3 separate regions of the Homo sapiens genome follow, and regions 1 and 3 are each linked to region 2. The links are contacts of gene promoters, found by promoter capture Hi-C in blood cells and fetal thymus (Javierre and others, 2016). All regions are on one chromosome and are shown on one strand. Each heading gives the region's core, a stretch centred on a gene start or on the middle of the fragment in contact. The rest is flanking DNA. Distances are from core to core; before and after follow the strand shown.

What was found. Contacts are between HindIII fragments. The CHiCAGO score rates a contact against its expected background, and 5 or more counts as called.
Region 1: a contact is called between a fragment that was not itself captured here and the fragment with the promoter of RABGEF1 in region 2, in 2 of 17 cell types (non-activated CD4 T cells and naive CD4 T cells). The highest score is 6.5, in non-activated CD4 T cells.
Region 3: a contact is called between a fragment that was not itself captured here and the fragment with the promoter of RABGEF1 in region 2, in 2 of 17 cell types (naive CD8 T cells and naive CD4 T cells). The highest score is 5.3, in naive CD8 T cells.

The regions. Positions count from the first base shown.
Region 1 is chr7:66,571,631-66,574,330 of GRCh38, forward strand. It overlaps the pseudogene RABGEF1P1. Among named protein-coding and RNA genes, the nearest start is that of KCTD7, 56 kb to the right of the region's middle. The HindIII fragment of the contact is 4,526 bases long and covers 1-2,700 here.
Region 2 is chr7:66,739,479-66,742,178 of GRCh38, forward strand. RABGEF1 (RAB guanine nucleotide exchange factor 1) reads left to right here and starts at 1,255. Exons shown (of 9, transcript NM_014504.3): 1 at 1,255-1,314. RefSeq lists enhancers at 869-918, 932-1,598 and silencers at 1,049-1,318, 1,339-1,478. The HindIII fragment of the contact is 9,271 bases long and covers 1-2,700 here.
Region 3 is chr7:66,537,980-66,540,679 of GRCh38, forward strand. It overlaps the pseudogene LOC100420547 and the pseudogene RABGEF1P1. Among named protein-coding and RNA genes, the nearest start is that of LINC03011, 46 kb to the left of the region's middle. The HindIII fragment of the contact is 1,533 bases long and covers 669-2,201 here.

The sequences.
Region 1 (2,700 bases), core at 195-2,694, 170 kb before region 2:
AATGGCCTTGAGCTCCCTGCAAGATTATTCTATCAGAAGAATAACTTGCATTTTAAAAAAGCTAACACTTACTGGAGATCTACTGTGTGAGTCAGGCACTGTGCTAAGCTCTGTACATGTGTCAACTCATGAAATCCTCATCACATGTCTCTGATAGGTATTACTGTCCCTCAGTGTGGACAAGACTTGGAGTGGTTAGTCCACCCAGGGTCACAAAGCTGGTAAATGACAAAACTAGGACTCAAACCAGGAATGACTGCAAAGTCACCTGACTAACCACCTGGAAATTTCACCTCCTAATAGATAAATCATGAGCTGAATACATTCTTATTTAATCTCTGGCAGGTACTAATTTTTCCCCCTTTTTAGTAGAGACAAAATAGCTACAACTGGCAGCCAACCAAGAAACAACTTCAAATTAATCATGTGAACAAAGATTTATTACTTAAAGCTAATCAATCTTTCTTTTTTCTTTTCTTTTTATTTTATTATTTTTTTTGTTTTTTTTAATTTTGAGACAGGGTCTTGCTCTGTCACCCAGGCTGAGACTACAGGCACATGCCACTGTGCCTGGATAATTTTTTTATTTTTTGTAGAAACGGGGTTTCACCATGTTGCCCTGGCTGGTCTCAAACTCCGGAGCTCAGGTGATCCACCCGTCGTGGCCTCCCAAAGTGCTGAGATTATAGGTGTAAGCCACCACACCTGGTATCCATGTCTTAAAGAGAAGTATGTTTTTGGTTATATGCAATATTTCCTTTTATTTCCTTACAATAAACCAAAAGAAAACAGCAAAAGTCACAAAACCTAGAGGACTGGCAAGGATCTTAAGGGATAAAAACTGTCTTATTATTCATTCCCCTGCCTCCAGGGGAGAAGATCTCATTACAATTACCCCAGGGTAAGAACTGGGGAGCAAGTGAGGGGGCTCCCAGAGAACAGGTTTTCTGACAGCATCAGTGTTGGTTCCCAGTCTCCCTCATTATTTCACATTCACTGCATAACTCAACATAAATTTTCAAAGACCGAGTACCAACATAAATTTTCAGAGACCAAGGCCTAACAACAGAGATTCTTTCTTGCTTCATATTGGGCCACTTCAACTGGGTTGTCTGCTCAATGGTAGAACAACTGTGACTTAAGTGACAATCCTCTTGATGGTTATATGGCATTTTAAGAAGCCGAGTGAATATGATCACCTACATACAAATCCATGCACTGGAAAATAGCTACTATGGCTCACTTTCATCCCTCCAGGAGCCCAATGTGGGCCTTTTCCTATATGTTCTCAATACAATTCCTCATGACACAAGCTGTCTCTCAAATAAGCTCTCAGGCAGAAAATCTCTCAGATGACCTTCAAGGCTAGAAATTGCCATTTCTGACAAGCTATGAACAATGAGGGTATGATACTACAGAACAAACCAGGATCCACAAATAAAAGGCGCAAAAACCAAATCATCCAAAGAGATAGTCATTTGGATGGGGATGAATTTCATAAACAAAACTACCTATTTCAATTCTCTTTATTCCTCCTATAAAGTAAACAAATTTCTCTAAAACACAATATCTTTCAACCAAAGAGAGTATTGGTTTCATATACTGTCTGACCCTCAAACCCAATTTCAGTGTCAAATCTGAGCTGATGTTCTCAAAAAGTTGACAGAAATTACAAAGCTGAGCCTATGAGCATTGGGGATCTCCTCTGTGTCTCACTCAGGCAGAGAAGAAAAAAAAGAGTATCACAACATTACCCTTCTTTGATCCGACCCTGGAAGACGTACTGAAGATTTCTTCACTGTGGTAACCTTGCGGGTCTTCTTGTTGGTTTTCTTTCCTTCAAACTTGGAGAATGTGAGGGATTGGGCCCCTTGGCTGCTCTGACTGCTGGCAAAGGCCTCTTCTTCCTCCCGCTGGAGTCTGCAATTCAAGAGAGGATTAGAATGATCTAGATATTCTCCAAGATTTCTCTATACCTGAAGGTTATTACTCCATTAATTCAGGAGGATCTAAAGATTTTAGACCTAGAGACTAAATATGCCAAATCAGTCTGAGGTCTCACATAGCTACAGGATGGACGGCTCTTCATGCACTACAGATTTCAAATGGGATCCTCTCATGCTCATTCAGCAACTGCTCTAGGTTACATGAAAGAAATCAAGTCTAGTCCTTTTCCCCAACAAGCTCAGTGAAATAAATAAAGTCTAGTCCTTTTCCCTAACAAGCTCAAGGCTGGAACAGACGAAAAGGTAAGTAAACAACTGCTACAGAATGGGACAGCTGCTACATCAGAGAGTAAAAGTTGAGTGCTGTGAGAACACAGGAAAGAACAACGCAATCTGCTGGGGGGAGCTGATAAGGCTTTACAACGGTGATGTTTGGGTGGGGTCTTAAAGGATAAATAGGATCCTTTTTTTTGTTGTTTTTTATTGAGACAGAGTGTCACTCCATCACCCAGGCTGGGGTGCAATAGTACGATTTCAGCTCACTACAACCTCTGCCTCCCGAGTTCAAGCAATTTTCATCCCTCAGCCTTCCAAGTTATTGAGACTATAGGTGCACACCACCACGTCTGAGTAATAAGGCTGACTAGGATTCTAAGTGAAAGGACATTCCAGGAAGAAGGAACTACAAATGTGCAAGCCTGTGGTTTGCTTCACAACAAGCTGAATGTAGCCAGAGCACTGGGCGTGTGATGAA
Region 2 (2,700 bases), core at 5-2,504:
CCCTGTCTCGACTAAAAATACAAAAAAAAAAATATGAGCTGGGCGTGGTGGCGGGTGCCTGTAATTCCAGCTACTTGGGTGGCTGAGGTGGGAGAATCGCTTGAACCTAGGAGGCGGAGGTTGCAGTAAGCCGAGATCGCACGACTGAACTCCAGTGTGGGCGACAGAGTGAGAGTCTCAAAAAAAAAAAAAAAAAAAAAAAAAATAGACTGAAAAATTACGCAACCTGTCCAAGAACACTACAGCGACAATTAGCAAAGCTGGGATTTTAACCCAGGTCTATCTCACAGCCACAGCATAGTATTTTCTTTTTTTTCTTGCTGTGACTGCACGTTACGCCATACATGGCATTCAGGACGCAGAGGAATTAGTATTTACTGTTTTTAACATTCCTTACATGGGAATCACGTAAAGAATCAGGTAAACAGGATTCAATTTGTGACTCAACCATTAATACTTTGTGACACTGGCTAATTTATTTCACTTCTGGATGTCGGTTATGTTTTTTTTGAGACAGGATCTCGCTCTGCTGTCACCCGGCCTGGAGTTCAGTGGAGGGATCTCTGCACCGTCAACTTCCTGGGCTATCAAGCGATCCTCCCACCTCAGCCTCCCTGGTAGTTGGGACCACAGGTGCCCGCCATCATGTCCGGCTGATTTGTAAAATTTCTTTTGTAGAGATGGTGACCTTGCTCTGTGGCCCAGGCTGGTCTCGAACTCCTGGACTCAAGCGATCCTCCTGCCTGGGCCTCCTAAAGATTCAGCTGCTTTTGGATCAACCGATCGCCTTAAGACCTTTTAACTCGAACACCTGTCACATCCTAGGATCCGCGAAGGACTGAAACAGAGTTTCTGAAGCGTCCCTCGGCGCAGTAGCTCCGCTCCACCTCCCATTCGCGCTACCACCGCGGCCGCAGCCCCAGGAGTCGCCGCGGAGCCAGCGTCGCCCTCCAGCTGTTGCGCGTCGGAAGCCGGAAGCAGGGACTGAGCGACAGACTAGGAAACGCCGGTTTCTCCGGGGCTCCCCAGCGCCCCACCTTTACCCCGGAGGCCGCCCTCTTCCATTTGCTCTTGGGCGTCAGGGCGGTACCCCACTCCGCTCGACCCTTTGGATCCACTCGCACTTCCTCCCGTCCAGAGTCAAAGGCCCCGGAAGTGACGTTTACGCGCCGCGCGTAACGTGCGTTCGCTGGCGGTGCCGGGGGCGGGGCGAGCAGGAGGGTGGGTGTGAGGCGGGAGCTGGCCGCGGAGCCCAGACCTACCCGGGCGAAGCGGGCGAGCGGTGGTTTGGACGCCGGCGGAGACGCGGGCGAGGTACGGAGCGGACGGACTGGGGCTGAGAGCTGCTCGGCTCTCAGCTACAGGAGCGGGGCGGCGGGGCGTCTCGGGCTGGGGGTGGCAGGGCGGTCGGTCCGTGCCATCCGCGCGGCTGGGGCAGTTGCGCGTCGGTGCCTCCCGCTGTCCTTCGTCCCACATTCCGTCTCCGTCAGCGCCGCCTTCCCCGTTCCAGGCCGCCCTCGGCTCCCTTAATCCTCAGAGTGCGGCCTCTCCGTCCCAGACGCTAGTTGCCGGGATCTCCAGCGCCAGCCGAGCCCCGACGGCCTGACGCGGAGCATTTCCTGGCCGCCTCCCTCTCCGGCGGCTCCCCTCGCCCCGGCTCCCACCTTCCGTCCAGGCCGCTGGCTCCGAAGCAGCGTCTGTGGTCGCACGGGGCCCCTCCCACAACCTCCCCGGAAAGCGCTGGTATGGGACGCTCGGACCCAGACCACAGCCCCCGGCCGCGGCAGGGGCGCGGGGACTTGATCCCACGTCACCCTAGGGGGCAGAAGTGTCCCGGAGTTGGGAGGGGATTTGAAGCCTGTGGTCCTGACTTCCACCCCGTGGCTGAGGGCGAGGCTGCGGGGCCGGGGTTAGGAGCAGAAGTCCCTGCTTCCGAACCGTCTGGGAGGAGAGCCGAGGGATGCCCATCACGGCAGTTTAGGGAGAGAGAGGGAGGGACTCTGCCGCTTTGGAGGCTAGGTCATAGGCAGCTGGCGGTGTCTCAGCGCGGGTGACCAATCCTTGCGGTTGGGAAATGTGTCGTGGGCGCCCGTGGGCTCGTTTTGCCTTTGAGATTAGGTAGGAAATTTTCCCAGGACGAGTTTACCGGAGCACCTTGGGAGTTGGTTTTTGGCCTGGAGAGCTGCTTTCCCCCCTCTAAACCTAGAACTGCTTTGTTTTTATTTATTATTTTTTTCGACATGGGATCTCACAGTGTTGCCCAGGCAGGTGTGAAACTCCTGGCCTTAAGTGATCCTCCCGCCTCGGCCTCCCAGAGTGTTGGGATTATAGGCGTGAGCCATTGCGCGGCTTTAACTGCTGTTAAAGAGTGTGTTCCGGCCGGGTGCGGTGGCTCACGTCTGTAATCCCAGCATTTGGAAGGCCAAGGCAGGCGGATCATGACGTCAGGAGCTTGAGACCATCCTCCCTAACACGGTGAAACCCCGTCTCTACTACAAATAAAAAAAAAAAAGAAAAAGAAAATTTGCCGGGCATCGTGGCGGGCACCTGTAGTCCCAGCTACTCTGGAGGCTGAGGCAGGAGAATGGCATGAACCCGGGAGGCGGAGGTTGCAGTGAGCCGAAATCGTGCCACTGCACTCCAGCCTGGGCGACAGAGCTAGACTCTATCTCAAAAAAAAAACTAAGAGTCTGTTCCTTA
Region 3 (2,700 bases), core at 185-2,684, 200 kb before region 2:
CAAACTCCTGGCCTCAAGCAATAGTCCCACTTCAGCCTTCCAAAGTGCTGGCATGACAGACATGAGCCACTATGCCCAGCCTGTAGTGCTTTTTGCTATGTGAGATTAGACCCAGCAGGCCCAGAGTCTCAAATTAGGAAACAGAGAGGTTGAGTGACTTTCCATACACCACACAGCATTAGGGGTTAGAATCAAGATTGCCTTCCTGTCTAATGAGCCAGGGACCTTCCCCATCCCTGGCCCTGGGGATCCCCCTTTTCCCCAGTGTATGCAGGAATTCAAGCAGGAGCTCGAACAATCCAGCCCCTACCAGAGCCTGCCCTACCCCATTTCCTTCAGAAACTCATGATTTAAAAAAATGTAACCTGGGCGACATGGCAAGATCCCATCTCTACAAAAAATGGAAAAATTAGCTGGGTGTGGTGGCCTGCACCTGTAGCCCCAGCTACTGCACTCCAGCCTGAATGACAGCAAGACCCTGTCTCTAACAAAAAAAAAAAAAAAAAAAAGTAATCCTCTTTCCTCTAAATTAAATAAAGAGGTAGGAAAATGCAAGAGCAGCTACAGAGAAAAATCAGTGTTCTTCCAGAGCTTGTTGACTGAGCTAGAGAATCCCACGGACAAGGTATACTGTGGGCTTTGCACAGTGTCTGCACGTAATATGGCCAAGCTTGTTTTTTATTTTTTAATTTGTTTGTTGTTAGTTTGAGACAGGGTCTAGCTCAGTTGCCCAGGCTGGAGTGCAGTGGTGCAATCATGGCGTACTGCAACCTTGACTTTCCAGGCTCAAGCGATCCTCCCACCTCTGCCTCCCAAGTAGCTGGGATTACAGGCACACACTACCATGCCCAGCTAATTTTTGTTTGTTTGTTTTTTTGTAGAGACAGGGTCTTGCCATGTTCCCCAGACTGGTTTCAAACTCCTGGCCTCAGCCTCCCAAAGTGCTGGGATTACAGGCATGAGCCACTACATCTGGTCAGTTCCTGGTGTTATTGACAAAGGCATTTAGACCCACTCCACCCCTCCCACACTCTGGAGGTGGTCAGGACGCCTCCCCAAACCGCCAGCCCCCTCAGCCAGCCCAGCCCCACTTTCCTGACACGCACACTCCCGCCACTTCTGGTTCACCGCCTGGGACCTGTGTCTCACGTAGAGCTGCCATAGTGTGCTATTGACTGCCCCGTAGTGTCACTGCTGGTTAGCCGCAGCCTGGTTTAGGGTTGCACTTCTCCCCAGACCAGGCAAGACTTGGAAGGAACAGGGGAAGTTTCCTGATTGGCTAATGAGTGTTAAGCACCTGAAATTACAGGATACTACAAGTTTCCTTGTGTCTTACTTGCCGCTCCCAACTGCCTTGGAGGTCTGTGTGATGAGCCCCAGAGTGCAGATGAGCCCACATCCTTGGAGCTTTGGGCCCCGTGTGGTGGTCACCTCCTCTGGGAAGCCCTCCCTGCTATAGGCTCCCATGGGCCATGTAAACCAGAAAGTGCCTGAAACAGGTCTCAATCGATTTAGAGATTTATTTTGCCATGGTGGAGGACACAGCCAGGAAAAAGAGACTCAAGCTGCAATAGGGTCTGTGGCCTGTGCTTTTTTCCAGAGAGGATTTTGAGGACTTTGGTATTTAAAGGGGAAAGAGGGGGGCTGGGCACAGTGGCTCACGCTTGTAATCCCAGCACTTTGGAAGGCCAAGGCAGGTGGATCACCTGAGGTCAGGAGCATAATGGGCAGCATAATGAAACCCCATCTCTACTAAAAATACAAAAAATTCAACACGCGTGGTGGCGGGTGCCTGTAATCCTGGCTACTCTGGAGGCTGAGGCACAAGAATCACTCGAACTCAGTAGGCGGAGGTTGCAGTGAGCCAAAATCATGCCACTGCACTCCAGCCTGGAAAACAGTGAGACTGTCTCAAAAAATAAAAAAATAAAAGAAGAGGAATAGTTAATGATGTATTCATCCTGTGCTCAGTAAATCTGCATTTTACATAAGATAATGTAAACAGAATAGAGGAAGTTAAATACGTATTTGTCTTGGGTGGACAGAGCGATAATTTCTATTCTTGTCTTTGTCCCCTGCCTGTGAAGATAAGCTGTGAATTTACATGACCAGGGTGAGGGAAGCCACCCGGGAGATAGGTGACCTTCTGTCTTACAGCCATCTGCTTAGGGACAAAAGGCTATTGAATGACTCAGTTCCCAAGCTTAACATTTCCCTTTGGCATAGTGAGTTTGGGGTCCCATGTTTTTTGTTTTTTCTTGAGACGGAGTCTTGCTTTGTCACCCAGGCTGGAGTGCGGTGGCGCGATCTTAGCTCACTGCAGCTTCCACCTCCCAGTTCAAGGGATTCTCCTGCCTCAGCCTCCTGAGTAACTCGGATTACAGGCACACACCACCACACCCAGCTAATTTTTTGTATTTTTAGTAGAGACACGGTTTCACCATGTTGGCCAGGCTGGTCTGGAACTCCTGACCTCAAGTGATCCACCCACCTCGGCCTCTCCACCCGGCCTGGGCCTCATCTTTGAGGGGCCTGCTAAGCTTCTTTCTATCCTGCAAGCTTCGTAGAGCTCTGACTTTGAGTCTTGCTCTGTCCCGGAATAGGAGAAGACAGAGGCGTGGCACTGTGGGCTGAAAGCAACAGATTTAGGGGAAACTATCTTTAAGACTAAGCCTTCTTTCTATAGCTACTGTCGGGGAG